3 separate regions of the Homo sapiens genome follow, and all the other regions are linked to region 2. Evidence: promoter capture Hi-C in 16 types of primary human blood cells and fetal thymus (Javierre and others, 2016). All regions are on one chromosome and are shown on one strand. The core of a region is centred on a gene start or on the middle of the fragment in contact, and the rest is flanking DNA. Distances in the headings are between cores, read along the strand shown.

Evidence for each region. The method cuts DNA at HindIII sites, captures the fragments that hold promoters and counts their contacts. A CHiCAGO score of 5 or more calls a contact.
Region 1: a contact is called between a fragment that was not itself captured here and the fragment with the promoter of GADD45G in region 2, in 10 of 17 cell types (M1 macrophages, M0 macrophages, M2 macrophages and 7 more). The highest score is 21.0, in M1 macrophages.
Region 3: a contact is called between a fragment that was not itself captured here and the fragment with the promoter of GADD45G in region 2, in 14 of 17 cell types (M1 macrophages, megakaryocytes, M0 macrophages and 11 more). The highest score is 18.2, in M1 macrophages.

The regions. Positions count from the first base shown.
Region 1 is chr9:89,969,816-89,974,202 of GRCh38, forward strand. The region is part of intron 1 of LOC101927847 (a long non-coding RNA gene); the gene reads left to right. Among named protein-coding and RNA genes, the nearest start is that of MIR4290, 52 kb to the right of the region's middle. The HindIII fragment of the contact is 1,282 bases long and covers 1,001-2,282 here.
Region 2 is chr9:89,603,671-89,608,706 of GRCh38, forward strand. GADD45G (growth arrest and DNA damage inducible gamma) reads left to right here and starts at 1,342. Exons shown (of 4, transcript NM_006705.4): 1 at 1,342-1,504; 2 at 1,762-1,863; 3 at 1,997-2,210; 4 at 2,299-2,885. The coding sequence starts at 1,452. The coding sequence ends at 2,409. It overlaps LOC105376139 (a long non-coding RNA gene), which reads right to left and starts at 1,346. Exons shown (of 2, transcript XR_930105.3): 1 at 1-1,346. RefSeq lists an enhancer at 153-1,051 and a silencer at 662-711. The HindIII fragment of the contact is 4,421 bases long and covers 1-2,850 here.
Region 3 is chr9:89,934,425-89,938,937 of GRCh38, forward strand. No RefSeq gene overlaps it. Among named protein-coding and RNA genes, the nearest start is that of MIR4290, 87 kb to the right of the region's middle. The HindIII fragment of the contact is 3,919 bases long and covers 710-4,513 here.

The sequences.
Region 1 (4,387 bases), core at 392-2,891, 370 kb after region 2:
GAGACACTGCCAATCCTACTGAGATCTCAAATAGGTGGAGGCAGAGGAAGGTGGCTGTTAGGGCTTCACTTTCCAGTAACCACAGGGCAGTAGGAGCTCACATGAGCCCACCTCCTCCTATGAGAAATTCATGAAGATGTGGATAAAATGTGATGCCTCAAAAATACGCACAAGAGCCCAGCAGCAAAAGCATAAAGAGCACTGAGCCCTGGAGTGGCAAACTCCAGCTGCTGCCCGCAATCTCTAGGCGCTGGTCAGGCGTGGAGTCCATTCGGGGGTGGAGTCCATCCGGGCAGGCTTCAGAGAGGGACATGGCCGCCTTGTTCACTGTGAGACACAGTAGCACAGGTAAGAAGCCACATTTGCTCATTTCTGCTGGCCAGCATAATTCCACAAAGCCCCTGACACTGTGACAACGTGGAGCTCTCTGGTGGGTTGCTTTGAAGACAAAACAGAATAGAGCACAGAGCACCTCCATGTCTCTCACCTGAGTCCCTACATTCCTATAGTCAAAACACACATGATCCTAGTCCTTGCCTTTTCCTACACATAAAATAATGTCCAGTTGGGCGTGGTGGCATATGCCTATAGTCTCAGCTACTCAGAAGGCTGAAGTGGGAGGATCACTTGAGCCCAGGAGGCTGAGGCTGCAGTGAGTCGTGATTGCGCCACTGCACTCCAGCCTGGGTGACAGAGGGAGACTCTGTCTCAGAAAAGAAAATAATGTCTGACCAGTGAGTGATTATGCCTCTGTAAAGTATAACCTGTAAGTGTACTCTTACACTTAAGCCTTGATTTGGCTCTGCTTTAATATAACTTCTGAGCAAGTTTGATGGGATTTTGCTCGTACTGAATCCTTACCACCTGTATCTGAGCTATGGGCTGAAACCCTGGCCAGAGCCATTGATAGATCCTCTCTAAAGAGCTGCTCCCAGGCTATTGGCTTCTGTGTGTAGCCCTCGACGAGACTTCTGAATAAAACTCACTTTAATTCTTTAAAAGCTTGATTATTTTACCTTTAGTCGACACTAGCAAGGAGCAGGCGGGAGCTGTGTCCCATGAAGGCAGGGCTGCAGGCGCTGCCGCTTCGGTGATGGGACTGAGCACTCTGCCCAGTGGGCCAGCAATACGGCCAGGACACATGGCTCCGTCCAGGCATCTGTGTGGAAAACAAGACCAGGCCCAAAGAGAAGACCAGGGCTTGGCGAGGGTGAAGGGCTGAGCGAAGTGGGAACAGCCGTACACGTGCGTGTCTCACAGACACGAAGCCCTCATGTCATAAAATCCTGGTTTGTTGCGATGAAACTGAAAATGCTACATGGCAATTGCAGAGGACAAAATACTTAGCATTGAATGACACTGAAAATACCCCTGCGTCAGGGCATGTGGGATGCAGCTAGAGGTGTGTGGAGAGGAACATGAAGCCAAAAAAGAAATACGGACATTCACAGGCCAAGATCCAACTCAGAAGACTAGAAAATGAACAACCCAGCAAACTTAGGAGATGGGGAAGGAAGGGAATTCAGAAGGTGATAGCTGCAAGCATCGGCAGACCAGTCCTAGCAAAATGGAGTTTAAAAGGGGGTAAGTCACAAATAAACAACACTAGAAACGAAAGTCAAACATAACTACAGATAAAGATTTTTAAAATACAATCAATCTTGAAAATAGACAAAACGTAAGTTTTGAGTGGTTGGGAAAATCTAGGAGTACAAAAGTTACCCCTGATAATTCCTAATTTTAACCTAATTAGAAATTAAACAATTGCTAACACAAAATTTTAAGACTCCAAAGGGAGTTTTCTTCCTAAATTTTACATTTTTTTATTTTTTAGAATTAAAAATATATATATATATATTTATTATACTTTAAGTTCTAGGGTACATGTGCACAACGTGCAGGTTTGTTACATATGTATATATGTGCCATGTTGGTGTGCTGCACCATTTTTTTTTTTTTTTTTTTTGAGATGGAGTCTTGCTCTGTCGCCCAGGCTGGAGTGCAGTGGCGTGATTTTGGCTCACTGCAAGCTCTGCCTCCCAGGTTCACGCCATTCTCCTGCCTCAGCCTCCCGAGTAGCTGGGACCACAGACGCCCACCACCATGCCAGGCTAATTTTTTGTATTTTTAGTAGAGACGGGGTTTCACCGTGTTAGCCAGGATGGTCTTGATCTCTTGACCTCGTGATCCACCTGCCTTGGCCTCCCAAAGTGCAGGGATTACAGGCGTGAGCCACCACACCTGGCCACAAATTATTTTCTTTTAATTTTCAAAACAAATGAAGCTTCTGCCAAATTTGTAGATGCCTGGGTCTAGATGCCTCATTTAACTTTCTTCCCTTTCCTACACATCTTGTGCTAAGCAGCACTTATTTTATAAGATTTCTTAAAGGACCATGATTATTATACGATTATCTGTCCAGAATTACCCCCCTTTCCAACCTGTTTACCTGGTGCATGCTATTATTCCTTTCTCCCTCCCTCCCTTCTTTCCTAATCCAGGGGTTATCCCTGCTGCAAGAATCGTTGCCATCTCTACACAGGAGTTCTGCACAGGGAGATGGCCCGTATATTAATAACTTTAAGGGGCTGGGCACGGTGGCTCACACTTGTAATCCCAGCACTTTGGGAGGCCGAGGCAGATGGATTGCCTGAGGACAGGAGTTCGCGACCAGACTGACCAACATGGTGAAACCTTGTCTCTACTAAAAATTCAAAATTAAACAGGTGTGGTGGCACATGCCTGTAATCCCAGCTACCCGGGAGGCTGAGACAGGAGAATCTCTTGAACGCAGGAGGCAGAAGTTGCAGTGAGTTGAGATTGTGCCATTGCACTCCAGCCTGGGCAACGAGAGAGAAAACCTGTCTCAAAAAACAAAAGCAAAAACAAATAAATCATGTTCAGCAGTTTAGCAGGAAAATCTACTCATCCTGAAACTGCGTTTGAAACAGTAGGGTAGAATAGAATTTTCCTACTCCTGAGAAAAAAAAATAAACTTACAAACTCCCCTTGGCAGACTTCAAATACCTACTGCCCACTTGTTCTGGAGGCTCTGCATTGCTGGTAATATTACTTTGGAGAAATGAGATTCGTTCTTTCAGTGGGGTAGCAGGTTAGACCTCTATACATCTTACATGGGCATTGGGCTTTAATCAGTACATGGGGCAAAAAATGACCTGCAGTTTCCTGAAGTTTCTCTTCAGGAATATTCTCCAACTTGGGGATTGCTACTCAATGAGTCTAGTACACTTATTTCTCTCGACAGGGGTGAGAAGTCCCTTTCTTCACTGGAAGGCCCATACAATATGTGACCAAAATAGGCATTTTTAGGCCAAGAGAACCTATCCAGTGTTGTGACATGGCCTGTTATGAAAAATTAGTTGTGAGTGTGTCTACTGGTAAGAGAGTAAAAGGAATGCATTTAAAACCTGATTTCACTTGTGCCTCTGCCACTTTCTCATGGGATCTGTGGCTTTATTGAGGACTTTTTTCTAAGAATGTGAACAAACAAATTGTAATCATCAAACAATATAGGCAGTATAAATAAAATGCTTAAGATTCCTCTCATCCTTCCTCAATCTTCCTTCTCCAGGTCAGGAGACCTATGTCTTTCTCTATATTCTTACAAACATGTAATATGTAGAATGTCTGTTTTTATGTCATTCATCACTTTTTTTACATTTTTGTTTATAATTGTGGTAAAATACATATGATGTAGAATTTGCCATCTTAAGCATTTTTTAAATGTATAGTTGAGCAGTGTTAAGTATATACACACTGCTGTGCAACCAATCCCCAGGATGCTTTCACCTTGCAAGACTGAAATTCTATGTCTGCTAGATACTAACCACCTGTTTCCCCACTGCCCCAGCCCCTGGGATCTACCCTTCGACATTCTGTCTCTGTGAATTTGACTTTTCTCTTATGAGTGGAATCATACAGTCTTTGTCATTTGGTGGCTGGCTTATTTCACTGAGCATAATGTCCTCAAGGTTCATCCATGTTACATAGCATATGTCAGAATTTCCATGTTTTTAAAGGCTGAATAATATTCCATTGTATGAATGGACCACATTTTGTTTCTCCACCCATCTGTCGATGGACACTTGGGTTGCTTCCATCTTTTGGCAAGTCATTCCAGACCTTTGAACAGTATTTCTGGAAGAAAACTTTACCCAATCCAGTCAACTCTGGAAGTGAAGAGCATATCCTCCCATATCTTCCTGCATTTATTTATCCATAAGTGCATTCCGTTAGAGAGTACCTAGTGAACGCCAGGCAATAGGGGGCTTGTTTCACAAAAGGCGGTAAAATGGACATGCTCCTGACATCATGAAACATGAATGGCTTAGATGGAATATAAAGTGAAGGAATAGGAGTGTGAGAC
Region 2 (5,036 bases), core at 92-2,591:
GGATGGGAATTTCCTTTTGCCCTCTACTCCCCAGGGTAACTGCAGTCCCACCTGAATGCGTTTTGCAGCCCTTACTCGGGTTCTATTTATGCGCAGCTTGGACAGGGCTCACTGGGCCCGGCCGGGCAGCTCCGTGGCCGTCCCTCTCCACCGCCCTTCCCCCGCGCCAGGCCAATGCAAGGGTGTGTGTGTTGGGGGGAGGGGAGGACAAAAGGGGTTCAGGATCTTTTTAACCTGCCTGCAGATGGCGCCCCGGGAAAGATTCCGAGCTGCATTACCTAAGCTCCAGGGGCTGCAGCCGCGGGGTCCCGGCCACAGGGCGTCCAGCCGCGAAGACTGCACAGCAGCTCTCCGTCCTTCCCAACTCGCGCGGCTGTTCGGCACCCGTGCGAGGAACGGATGGAAGGGAATTACTTGTAGCAGGGCCAGTACTGGGGGCGTGCACTCAGGGACCACGGAGTGGCACTCAGCCTCGACCCCACGCGCCAGGCAGCCCGGCGACCCCCACGCGCGGCGGGGTCCTGCCCACCCCACCCGGCGGCAGGTGGACAGTGTTGCTATGAAGAGAAAGCCTCGATTGTCCCTACAGCAAACCGCCACACGCCAGACCTCTGCTATTGTGCGCCCTCCATAGAAATGCAAACGAGCGGCGTGCGCCGGCCGCAATCTGCTCGTCCCCGCCCGCCCCCGTCTCCCGCGCCCCGCCGCGCTCGGCCAAGGGCGGGGAGGTGGGGTGGGATCTTCCAGAGACGGCTCAATGTACACATTGAGTATGCCTGGCAGGCATCACCAGCGCGCTCGGGACGCTAGTGGTCAGCTGCAGGGGGCTGTGCCCACTGCCTTTTGCAAGCCTCTAACTGGCGCTACCTGTTTTTACCTTAATTTCTGGCTCCAATGCAACAGTCTCATAGACTTCAAATTAAAGAAAAGAAACAAATAGAAAGGTAGCAATACAAAATGCAAAAAAAAATCCCTTTGCTTCTATAAAGGTGCTTTTCGCAAATTGCAGCATCATATAAGCAAACAAGGTTTTTGTGGGTTGGGTTTTTTCTTTTTTTTTTTTTTTTACTTTTTCCTTTTAAGGACTTCAAAAAAAAAAAAAAGCCAGGCGAGATGAAATCTGCAGGCTCCAGTCTGCCTGGTAACACCCCAACAAAAGCGGCAGATTTGAGGCATTGTCATCCCCCGCACCCCTCCCCACGTGGCCTTCTGGCACGAGCCGCTGGCTCGCCGCCTCATTTACATCAGAAAGCGGGTGCCGGCCAATAGGCGCGCAGCCTCGCGCCAGCTGGCGGCGCCGCACCCACCAGCCTATATAAGGGCGCGCAGCGTAGTAGGGGCGCACTCGCTGGTGGTGGGCGCGCCGTGCTGAGCTCTGGCTGTCAGTGTGTTCGCCCGCGTCCCCTCCGCGCTCTCCGCTTGTGGATAACTAGCTGCTGGTTGATCGCACTATGACTCTGGAAGAAGTCCGCGGCCAGGACACAGTTCCGGAAAGCACAGCCAGGTGGGTTTCAGGGCGCTGAGAAAGCCGCTGGTCGGTCGGCGACCGTCAGGGTTTTCCAGGGTGGGAATCCGCGGGGTAGGAGGGGAGCGCGGGGGTCCGGGCGCCAGATCCCGGTTGGAGAGCCGGGGTGCAGGCGCTGAGCCGGGATTGGAGTGTGGTTGGAGTTGGGGAGCCAAGGGTGTGTGCCGGTGGCCGGGGCTGGGGTCTCCGCCGCGCCCTCCGGCCGGCTCCCGCTCACTGCGCTGGCTCCTCCGCAGGATGCAGGGTGCCGGGAAAGCGCTGCATGAGTTGCTGCTGTCGGCGCAGCGTCAGGGCTGCCTCACTGCCGGCGTCTACGAGTCAGCCAAAGTCTTGAACGTGTAAGTGTAGACGCGGCCCAGGCTGGGAGACAGGGGCGGGGGTGAATGGCGAGGAGACTGGCGGATGGGAGGGGTGGCGGCGGGAGAACTCGGCTAGCCGGTTCTGACCTAGGTCCCCGCCTTGCCCTCGCAGGGACCCCGACAATGTGACCTTCTGTGTGCTGGCTGCGGGTGAGGAGGACGAGGGCGACATCGCGCTGCAGATCCATTTTACGCTGATCCAGGCTTTCTGCTGCGAGAACGACATCGACATAGTGCGCGTGGGCGATGTGCAGCGGCTGGCGGCTATCGTGGGCGCCGGCGAGGAGGCGGGTGCGCCGGGCGACCTGCACTGCATCCTCATTTCGGTGAGTACAGTCCCGTCCTGTCCCCGCCCCAGTGTCGTTCCCGCCTCGGCCCGCGGCCAGCCAGGCTGACCCTGCTCTCTCTCCGCAGAACCCCAACGAGGACGCCTGGAAGGATCCCGCCTTGGAGAAGCTCAGCCTGTTTTGCGAGGAGAGCCGCAGCGTTAACGACTGGGTGCCCAGCATCACCCTCCCCGAGTGACAGCCCGGCGGGGACCTTGGTCTGATCGACGTGGTGACGCCCCGGGGCGCCTAGAGCGCGGCTGGCTCTGTGGAGGGGCCCTCCGAGGGTGCCCGAGTGCGGCGTGGAGACTGGCAGGCGGGGGGGGCGCCTGGAGAGCGAGGAGGCGCGGCCTCCCGAGGAGGGGCCCGGTGGCGGCAGGGCCAGGCTGGTCCGAGCTGAGGACTCTGCAAGTGTCTGGAGCGGCTGCTCGCCCAGGAAGGCCTAGGCTAGGACGTTGGCCTCAGGGCCAGGAAGGACAGACTGGCCGGGCAGGCGTGACTCAGCAGCCTGCGCTCGGCAGGAAGGAGCGGCGCCCTGGACTTGGTACAGTTGCAGGAGCGTGAAGGACTTAGCCGACTGCGCTGCTTTTTCAAAACGGATCCGGGCAATGCTTCGTTTTCTAAAGGATGCTGCTGTTGAAGCTTTGAATTTTACAATAAACTTTTTGAAACAAACTTATGCTCTTTATTGAGGGTAGGGGATCTTTGTGTCGGGGGAGGTGGCGTGCAGGGTTTCAGAGGATTGCTGGAACTCCGTGGAACTGATGGCACCTGTTCCGTCTTCCTGTCGGGCAAGAATGACAGGCTCCTCCCCTCTGGCAGAGGGAGGGCATGCTGCCCAGTGCTAGGGTAGAACTTGAGCCTGGCTCCTACTTTTCTCCTTTTAGGAAGATTTTAAACTTGCAAAACAGGAGCATACTTGAGATAAGACAGTGCAGCAGCTGAAGTCTTGCCTTCCAAGGCGATAACAGTGACCTGTGCCTCCCCTCCCCCTCCTCGGCCCTCCTCCCCCTCCCTCCTACAGCTGCTTATCTGAACAGCTTGCAGGAGGCCTCAGGCTTTCCTGCACAATGAGCATTGCCTTCTGCAGGCCCTGCCCTTTGTGGTCCCTGAGGATGGTGGCAGACTGCTCCTGCTCTTGGGGACTTTTTCCTCTTAAATGCTCTGACACAAAGCAATGCTACAAAGGTACTAATACCAAATATGACATTGATGACTGCATTTAAGTATGAGTCATTACTTTGTCATGGCTGTGATAGAACTTGGAAGATCTGAGAAAAAATTGGAAGGCAGCATCTATATAAATAGGCATGAGCAATTCTGAGGGGGCCTGGCATCTGCTATCTACTATTTTCAGTGTTCTCTGCCCACATCAGAGTTACGAGGATTGCTGCTATTCACAATTCCGTTTAAAGACTCATAGGAAAAAAAAATTAAATATTTTAAGCCAAGACTTTCTTTAAAAAGGAACTAGGGGGAAATGTCCTGATCGAATCAATCTTTTTTATGAGACCAATATGCCTTGAGTTCGTTCTGTGTCTAACTAGCTGCTTTCAGCAGGGGAAATACATGTGGGACCCTTGTGCTGTCAGCTAGACTGCCAAGCAGGCTGAGCCTTCTGGGCAAAGGAGGCATGATGTGCTGTCTTCAGTGCTTGGGGTGGCTGATTTACCTCATTGAGTGCCACGTCCTAAAATTCCGTCCAAATTACGGGAGGATTCTTGAGGCAACAGGAAAACTGTACTGAATTACTCTTCTTGTAATGAAAGCGTCCTTGTTTTCCATTTATCAGCTCCTAAAAACATCTACTCCTCAATGGGACAGAAGCCTAGATAAAAAATTCAGTTGTATTTGTGCCCAATTTTCATTACTATTTTACCTATTTGCTGCTTGAAATCTTAAGGTTTTCTTATTGAGGTAGTCTTGGGGTGGGCCTGTCTACCAGTCTGCGTTCCAGCAAAATGACCAGAACATGCTATTGTAAACACAAAGTGGACTTGATTACTTTAAAATGAACCCTTAAATGAGTAAATTCAGCAGAACATTGCACAGAGCAGGTAGGCAGACCCTCCTGTTGGCCAAGCGACACTTGTAGAACATGAGGTTGTAAGCCCTTGGTTTTTTGATTAGAGCTTGCTATGAGGCCACCTGTTGGAACCCCAAAGGGCTAGGAGAATTTTCAGGTGAATAAATGCATGATGGGACACAGTGCCATGCCCAAAAGTTGTGCTAAACTTTTTCTTTTTTTTTTTTTTTGATGAACAGGTGTTTAATGCTATTAACATGAACTAACTCAGAGGGCAGATAATAAAATGTCCAGTGTTTATAAACACATAATTGCATTTAGTACTTCCAACAACCCTATATGATAATGCATATATAAGCCCTCAGTGCGTGGTAATTATCACTACATATGTGTTGGGGGTGACCCATAAAGACGAGCACAATGCCTGGCATCTAGAAAGCACTGAATGAATGTTAATGACAATAATACTTAAAAGCTAACGAAGACATTTGTCCCAGACCACAGAACTCCAAGTGAACTAGTGGGTTTTGGACTAGCCGTCTGGTTTCAGGACCAACACGTTGCTGCCATGAACTTCCGGGTGCTGGAGCACTTGCGGCAGGCTTATTTTGGAAAGAAGGCTATTTTCATTAGATAACTTTCTACCTTTATAAGTTATATGTATTCATTGCAGAAAAATTGTAAAATACATCAACATTAAAGAAATAAGTAAAAGTGCCTGTAACTGACCATCAGCAAGTTTTGATGTATTAATATTTCCTTCTGAACTTCTATTTTTCCTCTTACATATTCTGTAACAC
Region 3 (4,513 bases), core at 1,419-3,918, 330 kb after region 2:
CCAGCCTTGTCTGTCTCCCTGTCATCACTGGCTGTTTTAGCTCTAAATGCCTCTTGCTTTTTTGCTCCAACCCCTTATTGTAAGAAAGCCTTGATTCCTTGAGCATAAGAGGAATAAGACACATTTGAAGGGAGGGAAGGAGAGGGAGAGGGTGGGGAAAAGTGACGGCAATATGAGGTTGGCTGCTGATGCATGTTTCCGTGAGGTATGTTGGAAATATCTTTCTCCAAACTCCAGATTCAAGGTCATATCACCATGTCATCCGTGGTCAGGAGTTTAGAACCCACAACCTGAACCCTGACTTTGCCAGCTTGCATGTCATGGGGCCGTCCTCTGCTCAGCCCTCCCAGGGGCTCAGCCCACTCTGGGAATACCCCGGCCCCAGCTGCCCTTTTGGCCATGATGACCCTGGACAGCGAGCCCTTCTTTCTTGCATAGGGTGCCAGGCACACTTGTTGGAATCCAGGCGGAGGGTGACTGTTCCCTTCTCCATCTCTCGACATAAATATGGACTGTACCTGATCACACCTGGCAGGAAGGCGTGTGCTTTGAGGTTGGCAGCTGCCCAGTATGGCACAATATTTGTTGTAGGAGACAAGAGACCTGTTGGGTCCAGGTAAAATGTGCACTAACAGGGAGCCTGGTCAGACAATGGCCCCACTTTCAAAGTCTATTTCTAACTCAAAGGGAGAGTTACAGTCAATAGAAAAGCTTTCACAATGGCCCCTTGCTTTAATGTCGCTTCCTCTACAGTCCTTTGTGAAGTTGGTCAAGGATGCTGGAGGCTGGAGCTGCCTGCATTCTGGCTGTGCTTTGCTTTGTCAGCCCAAGCACTCGGAGAGGTTCTCCGACGAGCACCACTTGTTTGTATAAACTCTGTAGCTGGGAAATGGGGGACAGTTCAGAACTGGAGTGTCAAAGCCAAGAGGAATGGAGAGCCCACTTCAGACACTAGTCGTGGTAGACATTGTGAAGCCAGGAAAGCGAAGTGTTGAGAACACTGCAGGCCATGCAGACTGCATCTTGCCTGCCTAAGATCACATGGACTGGGCAGAACTTGGACTTGAGCCCAGCTCTTCTGAAACCCAGTTGTTGAATTTCCACCTTAGCTCCTATTTCTCTGGTGCTTCGTCGCTTCCCAAGTACATCCACCCAATCATCCCACCTAATCATCAAAGTCACAAAAACCAGCCCAGGATATGCACCCACATTCCTACCTTGGTTGGCAGTGTGTTCTACTCCAAGTCTGTTTCTTCCTATTCCTTGTCTTCAGAGTGACTGAGGGTGTTATAAAATGTCTCCATCTCATACTGGGAATGACAAAGAACATGGGACAGGTCCCTACAATGTTTGGATGATTGATGTGTTCTGTTTCCTTAATTCTTGCTTCCTGGTGGCTCAATGCTATGGCACCACTAACCCTGTTGGATGCCGTAATGCCCGAAGCAATGTGTGTACTGGGAATACGAGTTTAAGAAACAGACATTCTCTCCATCCCTGGGCATCAGTATCTACACACAGTTTACTAGCCTCTGAATCAGCTTCTCATTTGAACTAGCAGAAAGGCATCCCCTGGATAAATCAACACTGTCAGTGAGCCAGGGAACAATTCTCAATTGACCTACTTTCACTCAGGGTGGAACCCTTATTCCTAAACCTTGGGTTGAGGCTTGTGGATAAAGAAGAATGCACACATGAAACTAACTTTTTATCAGCCTAAAACTGAAACGAACTTGGGTTTTATATTTGGAGGAAGTCAAATGCTCTGATGAAAAGAAGAAATGGAAATTGAGCATAATTTATCACAAAATAGGCAAAGACATAGAAGGATGCTTTCAGGCTTTTATGAAAGCAGCTGGGCTGGATTCAGAGGACAGAGGAGTATAACAGACAAGGGGATCAAGAACCTGCTCACTCCTGAGAAAGCACCCAGCAGCTCTTCTGTGTTCTTTGTTCATCTGTTGAAGAGGCTGCCCCCTCAGCCTAGTGCAAACAACTCAGGCCATGAGAGAAAGAAGGGGGTGGGCAACTCTGTCCATTCTGAGCTGACTTGCCTGCTGGGAGGAAGGCACACCATAAGAACTCACTGGGGCCCTTGAATGATCCAAATTTTGGATATTGATTGAGAATGCTTCAGAAGATTGCAGATCTTCCAGATCTTCCAGAACTGTGGGAGCTTTGCTGGAAACTGCAGGTTGAGGGAAAAGGTCTCTCTTTTGTTGATGAAAGGTTATTATTCTTAAGAATTAGTGAGGTTAGGGCCGGGTGCGGTGGCTCACACCTGTAATCCCAGCACTTTGGGAGGCCGAGGAGGGCGGATCATGAGGTCAAGAGATCGAGACCAACCTGGCCAACACAGTGAAACCCCATCTCTACTAAAAATAACAAAAATTAGCTGGGCGTGGTGGCATATGCCTGTAGTCCCAGCTACTCAGGAGGCTGAGGCAAGAGAATCACTCGAATCTGGGAGGCAGAGGTTGCAGTGAGCCAAGATTGAACCACTACGCTCCAGCCTGGCGATAGAGCAAGACTCTGTCTCAAAAAAGGAAAAAAAAAAAAAAAGAACTAGTAAGGTTAGTTGGTTAGTTAGGTCAATGTCACTGCCTTATATTTTCTCACTGGTTCTTCCTAAGGTCAAAGTGCCAAGGATCCCAAGTCTCTGAGATGGATCTTTATGTGAAGCAACTACAATCACAGAGCTTCTGGATTCCTCTCACTATTTGTTCTTACTACAGAGGGGCTGTCATGGAGTAGTTTTCTTCTTTTCAAGCACCTGAGTGAGCTTAAGAAGTGGGTGAAGGGTGTTTGGCAGCCAGGCTTTGCTCTTTCACAGCCCTCCATGGTAGACAGGTCAAGCGGACCTTGCTCCCACGATTTTTAAAATTGTGATCCTATGTCCCTCTTGAACCAGTTCTTAGCTAAATGGTTAGCATATTCCTGGTGCAAGGTGCATGTTCACTGAATGCTTGTTTTGCTGGTTAAAACAGACTTAACATCAAATCATTTTAGGACATTTAAAAGTACTGAATTATTTATCTGAAAGAAGAAGGAGCTTAATATTTGCATAAGAGAAGGACAAAAAATGGTCCAGAAGTATGTCAAAGAGCCGTGGCAGAATCATCACTCTTTTTTAAGGCACTATCTGGTTTATGAATCTTCTGTGTCTGTTGGGGTGGAGGAGTTGGGCAGACACACAGGGCTTTTAGCTAAGAGTGACCTCTGCCTGGTCTCCTGATCAGGCCATTCACTCTCCCAGGCTCTTGTATTTTGCTTTACCCTCCCTATTTGCACCTTCTACACACATGATTTTGGATTTTAAGATCTGATTTTCCACATACTTTGAATTTGTGTGGTTCAAAAGTTTATGACTTTTTGACCAAATTTGGAAATTGAATAGATAATCTTGCCTATCCTACCACTTTGTAAACTTATTAATTACCTTGATCTTCCATGTTAGGCATATTTAATGTATTTTTAATCACTTAGTAGAATTGTCTAATACAGAAAAATAAAAAGAAGAAAACAACAAGAGTGAGCTACTGCCCAGACAAGGCTTATTAATTACAAAAGAAAAATTGTGTTACACTGACTGTAAAAAAAATTGTGCTAACTTTCTTATTTTTGCTATGCTTTCTGAAATAGTTTAAATGCACCAAAATATTCTGTTACTTCAAACATTAAAAAAATTCACCTGTGACACTGGGTAATCTTGGTGATTTTGGGAAGGGGTAAATAATTCTTTAACACCATAAAAAGTACCTTTTCCTGGTGTTTTTCAGTGTCATTTTGAGGGGTTATTTTACCAGGTCCTTGGGCACCTCTGTGCAACTTTGTCTCTCTAATGTCATGAGGTCAGCAAGAATATAACTCAGATTCTAAACTCTTGCTTCCAGACTTTGAAATTTCCCCAGGACAAAAATTAGCTTCAAGTGCTTGACTCAATTTGCTAGATTCCAGAACTTTCCTGGATTTCAGTTGGCTAATTTCTCACCATCTACTTAGCTGTTTACTGCCTTTAAGCCTTTATAGAGAGATAGATATTGATAGAAATAAATATTTATGGATATAGATGTAGACATATGTATTTACATATAGATATGGATGGATGAGACATAGATTGGCATTTTCGGGTTGTTTCCAACAGAAGCGTTGGTCTAAATTACCTGGTCTGCCATTACCCAAAAATGAGAGAGTAAATAAGAAGGTTAACAAGTTTTTTTTACAGTTAATATAACGTGATTTTCTTTTTTTACTTGTGTATATTATCTACTGTTGCTCTTAATTAATTTATTAACTCTGTAAATGGTGGCTTAAGCCTCAATTTGGTGCCTTATTTCCAAATTCTCACTTCTTTTAAAAAGAAATCCCTTATGTGAAACTTCTATTAATAACTAAATTCACATTCCCTTATTTTTTTTCACCCTGCAGTTCAGAACGCTCGAGGAAACTTCTTGTTTTCAGTTTGTGTTTTTTTTCATTCCTTTCTTTTTTTCACCCTGCAGTTCAGAACACT